Linked DNA regions of Homo sapiens: region 2 is linked to region 1. The links are contacts of gene promoters, found by promoter capture Hi-C in blood cells and fetal thymus (Javierre and others, 2016). All regions are on one chromosome and are shown on one strand. Each heading gives the region's core, a stretch centred on a gene start or on the middle of the fragment in contact. The rest is flanking DNA. Distances are from core to core; before and after follow the strand shown.

Region 1 (2,700 bases), core at 30-2,529:
TCCCACTCTGCCTGCCTTTGCCTACCCATAGCTTAGCTCTCGCTTTTAAATAAGAACATGTAGTATTTGGTTTTCCACTCCTGAGTTACTTCACTTAGGATAATGGCCTCCAGTTCCATCCAAGTTGCTGCAAAATACTTTATTTCGTTCTTTTTTATGGCTGAGTAGTATTGCATGGCGTGTGTGTGTGTATCACATTTTCTTTCATCCAGATTTTTGAGTCTGCAATCCATGTAAACCCTTGGGACCATCCCACCCATGACGATGGCCATTTGGGGTAAATTATTAAAATGATGACATCCAGCTGGGCGCAGAGGCTCATGCCTGTAATCCCAGCACTTTGGGAGGCTGAGGTGGGCATATCACTTGAGGTCAGGAGTTCGAGGCCAGCCTGGCCATCATGTTGAAACCCCATTTCTACTAAAAATACAAAAATTAGCCAAGTTTGGTGGTGCACGCCTGTGGTCCCAGCTACTCGGGAGGCTGAGGTGGGAGAATCGCTTGAACCCAGGAGGTGGAGCTTGCAGTGAGCTGAGATTGTGCCACTGCACTCCAGCCTGGGTGACAGAGCGAGACTCCATCTCAAAAAATAAAAATAAAGTAAAATGATGACATCCAAATCACAGTTTCTCTTACAAGTATACTTCACCGGAACATCGAGGGCACAAGCTGATGGTGGGTGTCTTGGACCCCAAAGCTGTCGGGGTGAGGAAGGCCTTTGAAGGGGTGCTGACCACCCGGCATGCCCAGGAAGCTTCCAGAACAGGGGCTGAGGGAGGAAAGAGGCTTGGGGTGTAGGAGGCTGCAGGATTTGATGTGGGGCACCCCGTTCCCCTCCCATTGCAGTGACAGGCTCTGGAATTTCTTCAGAAATTCAGCTAGATCTCGGGAGCCAGTGCCCTGGAGAACCTAGAAGGGAGAGAGCCCCTCCCAAGGCCCCACCTGGACTCTGCCGGGGGTCACGGCTGGGTGGGGACTGATGCCCAGACTGGTCCAGCCTCACCCCGACTGATGCAGGTGGGCTGGGCCCTGAGACTCGCCTTGGTCTCCCCATCTCCGGCTCCCTGATCTGTCCCCAAGCACCCCCACCCCCGGCCCTGTCCCCACTCCCACCCCCACCTCCTTGCCGCCCTCCTCCCGAAGCACCGACTCCGCCCCCTCCCTCTCTTCCTTATCTTTTTCTAACCTTTCGCATTTTTTAGTCTCATTTCCTGTCGGGTTTTGCATTTCCCTCCCCCGCCCCTCCCAGCCTATGACATACTTTCTCTCCTTTTTTCTCTCCTGCCTCCTCTGGCCTTCGGACTCCTGCCCGCGCCGCCCGCAGCCCCCTCCCGGCCCTGCAGCCCCTGGGCGGGCGGCGCCCCTCGGAGGACGGCTCCGGGCCCGGGGGGACGGAGGGCCTGGTCGCCTGGAGGAAGCCGGAGGCCTGCGTGGAGGAGGCGCCCCGCGCAGCTGGCTGGCGGAGCATGAGCGCCCCAGGTAGGCGCAGCGGGGATGGGGGAGCTGGCGGAGGGGGAGCACGAGGCGGGGAGTTGGGGGAAGAGAAGAGGGCACGGGGAGGAGATGGGGGGCATCAGTGAGATGACACGGTGGCGGGGGGGGCGTCGGGGGATGGGAGTGGCTCCCGCTGGTCCCGCGATGCTGGGGGTATCCTTCCCTCTCCATCTCTGTCCCCCTGCCCCCCTTCTCTCTCTCACTCTCCTCTCCCCTTTTTCCCTTCCAACCCTTTTTCTCCCTCACTTTCCACCTCGTGTGCCTCTCCTCCGTGTCTCTTTGAGCGTCTCTGAGTATCACCGCCCAGCAAAGCCCCCACCTCCTCCTACTGGACAGGAAAAAATCGGGGGTCAGGAGGCTGCAGCCCCTTGGTGCACCTGCCCCAGAGGGAGGAAGAGAAACTTTTCTGACACCTGAAAGGCCCGGAAGTTTGCAGACCACAGCCCAGCCTGACTCAGAGGCTCCTGGGAAGGTGGGGCCTGGCTCAGGGAGGAAGGGCAGCCGCACCAAAAGTGGGTGTGGAGCTGGGAGATGGGAGAGGACAGCCCCCCGCGGGGACTGTACTAGAAAGGGGGTGGCGGGGGCACAGGAGAGGGCCCAGGTTCCCGACTGAAACCCGGAGCAGGTCCTAGCGGCCTCAGGCCTGAAAGCCACCTCCCCCAGGAGGCCCCTCCAGGCCCGATGGGGCCACCAGGCCTTCTGCTGAGCCCCCTCTGCAGATAGGGGCAGAGAGGGTGTTTCTGTCCCTCGGGGGCTCTGAGCACCGCTGGAGGCTGTCACGGGGACCCAGGTTCATGGACAGTGGTCTCAGCTGTGAGCTTCGGGGCTGCCCACACAAACTTGGTCTTGGACCAAACTGACCTCTCTCTGCCTGGCCTGCTCTCAAAGCCTTTGATTTGTAGTTCAAAACATTTTCTCCTAATATTTATGACTCGTCTTGAAGGTATAAGGTTACCAACCTACCAGAAAGGGGAGAAAAATAGTCGATCGTTCATTCCACATTTATTGAGCGCTCAGCCTGTGCATAATGCGTGCCGGAAATCCCGGGAGCCGGGAATTGATATGAGGACAGGAATTTCTCCGTAAGTGTCCACTTCTGCGCTTTCGCGGAAACTCCGGTTCTCTCCCCAGCAAGGCATCTGTAAAGAGATGACACCCCTGCCTCAGGCCAGGGCTGCCCTGAGGAGCGCAACAGTGACCAGGACT
Region 2 (2,700 bases), core at 30-2,529, 180 kb after region 1:
TAACGATTAGGTTGGGTCACAGAAAAACACAGTCCTAGCCGGGTACAGTGGCTCATACCTGTAATCCCAGCACTTTGGGAGGCTAAGGTAGGAGGATCCTTTGAGCTCAGGAGTTCAAGACCAGCCTGAGCAATATGGCAAAACCCCGTCTCTACAAAAAATATAAAAAATTAATGAGTCAGGTGTGGTGTCAAGCACCTCTGGTCCCAGCTACTCAAGAGGCTGAGGTGAGAGGACCGCTTGCGCCCTGGAGGTTGAGGCTGCAATGAGCTGTGATCCCACCACTGCACTCCAGCCTGGGCAACAAAGCGAGACCCTGTCTCAAATAAAAGAAAAAAGGGCCAGGCGTGGTGGCTCACACCTGTAATCCCAGCACTTTGGGAGGCCAAGGCATGTGGTTCACTTGAGATCAGCAGTTCAAGACCAGCCTTACCAACATGGTGAAACCTTATCTCTACTAAAAATACAAAAATTAGCTGAGCGTGGTGGTGGGCACCTGTTATCTCCAGCCTGGGCGACAGAGAGACTTGGTTTCAAAAAAAAAAAGAAAGAAAAAAAAAAGGAAAAAAACACAGCCCTGGTTTTGCTTCACTCAAGTACATGGAATAAGAAACGCTTGCCTGCTGGCCAAGTGACCCTCCCACAGCGGTCAGGAAGCTTCTAGAACCCGGTTATGTTGGCTGAAAGCAGAAATGGCCAAGTCAACCTCAGTGTGATATTGAGGGGGCTCCTGGGGCTGGAAGCATGCACCCCAAACTTAGACCCCGGCAAAAGGAGTGGGGAAGATGCCGGTGCCATGAGGGCAGGAAGCTGAGTTTGTTGCTAGGGGCCTGGGAGTGTTCCCGGAGGACGGGAGCCCTGTGAGGGGCATCTGGCGGCTGACACTGATGAATGGCTGTGCCGGGCCAGCCTTACCTGGGCAGCCAAGGCCAAAGCTTGGGGGCAGGAGGAGTGGCAGTGACACGGCTGCAGCTGGATGGAATCCGGGGCCTGAACCCCAGCATCCCCTCCCTGACACCCTACAGCTACCCATAGCCGGGGAGGTGGGGAGGTGCCGGCCCTCGGCCCACAATGCTGATCACATCTGTCTGGTTCTGAGGAGGAAATCCAGGACCTAATGAGAACAAATGGCAGCCTGGATAACTCATCTGTGGTCACAGATGAGATTTCCCCACCCGCTGCACCCCTAATTCAGCAGAGGCCATCTATGGGTTTCCTTGTGTGGCATGAGCGACACCTGGTGGTCACAGATGGGAATTTCGAGTCATGTTCTTCAGGCTGCTTGGGACACCCCACCTGGACCCCATCCCACTCTGGGCAAAGGCAAGACCACCACTGAGCTCAGGGTGCACCTGAGACTTGGCCGCAGCAAGGAGATGTAGATACAAGGATCACGTCAGAAGACGTTTCATTCATTCATTCACGTTCCCAAGCATTTAGTGAGCGCATACCAGGTATCAGGAAGAGATGAACAAAATGGTTTTATGAAGTTTGCATCCTAATGAGGAAAGCAGATAACAAGCATGTAAATATCAGATAATTCCTTACTGTTAAGTGCTGTGAGAATTCACAAGGTTCAGAAATTGAGTCAAAAATCTTTCTCAGTACCCTCAATAAGCTTCATCTCAGGCCGGGCGCAGTGGCTCACGCCTGTAATCCCAACACTTCAGGAGGCCGAGGCGGGGTGATAACTTGAGGTCAGGAGTTTGAGACCAGCCTGGCCGACAGTGAAACCCCGTCTCTACCAAAAAATAGAAAAATTAGCCAAGCGTGGTGGCACATGCCTGTAGTCACAACTACTCGGGAGGCTGAGGTGGGAGAATCATTTGAACCTAGGAGGCAGAGGTTGTAGTGAGCTGAGATCTTGCCACTGCACTCCAGCCTGGGCAACAGAGAGAGACTCTATCAAAAAAAAAAAAAGTGTAAGCCTCATCTTAGCTGAATCCCTGGACACTTACCTTGCCACAGGTCCCAGGCCCCAACCTCAGGAACTTTATATGGACTCTTGCGAAAGTGAGGCAGTGGAGTGACTGGGCAACGGATGTGGAATCAGGAAGACCTTGGGTTCCAATCCTGACTCTGCCACCTCCTAATTTTGTGGCCTTGGGCACATTACCTACCTTGTCTCAGCCTGTTTCCTCAACAGAGAAAAATGGGAATTACAACAGGACCTTATTACAGGACCTACCTCCTAGTTACAAAACTTAATGCCATAACTTACGGTCAGAAAAGTGCTTGGAGCATCTCCAGACCCAGAGAACCACTTGCAGTAAATATTAGCTGCTATTGTTATTGATATTACTATTGTGCCGACACTCCAGACCTTCTCCTCCTCCTCCTCTTCCTCCTCTTCCCCTCCCAACCCCAGAAGCCAGGAGAAAGAGGAAGGACCGCAGCCAGTCCCCCCGACCTCTCCCCTCCTTCTCCAGGGCTCTCCGGCCAAGGCTAAGCCAGCCCTTCAGTGGGGGACAAGATGAGTGCGAAATTGCATGTGAGATGGCAGTTTCAGACTCAACCAGACTGGCCTTTCTATTGCCCAGAATTACCCAAGCTGAGGCTAAGGGACAGGAAGCAGAGATTGGAAAGGGCAGGGCTGACGGGAGTGAGTCACTGGTGGGGAGAAAATGAACCACTTCCTGTGTGTTCCCACAGAGGTCAGGGCCCTCAGCAAACAGCGACAGGCTACAGGCTCGTTCTCCG

The links. The method cuts DNA at HindIII sites, captures the fragments that hold promoters and counts their contacts. A CHiCAGO score of 5 or more calls a contact.
Region 2: a fragment that was not itself captured here is called in contact with the fragment with the promoter of CARD11 in region 1 in 4 of 17 cell types (total CD8 T cells, non-activated CD4 T cells, naive CD4 T cells and 1 more); the score reaches 7.3 in total CD8 T cells.

Annotation. Positions count from the first base shown.
Region 1 is chr7:3,042,446-3,045,145 of GRCh38, reverse strand. CARD11 (caspase recruitment domain family member 11) reads left to right here and starts at 1,279. Exons shown (of 25, transcript NM_032415.7): 1 at 1,279-1,479. RefSeq lists an enhancer at 1,057-1,351 and a silencer at 1,217-1,566. The HindIII fragment of the contact is 15,618 bases long and covers 757-2,700 here.
Region 2 is chr7:2,863,743-2,866,442 of GRCh38, reverse strand. No RefSeq gene overlaps it. Among named protein-coding and RNA genes, the nearest start is that of GNA12, 21 kb to the right of the region's middle. RefSeq lists a silencer at 1,748-1,827 and an enhancer at 2,605-2,700. The HindIII fragment of the contact is 683 bases long and covers 938-1,620 here.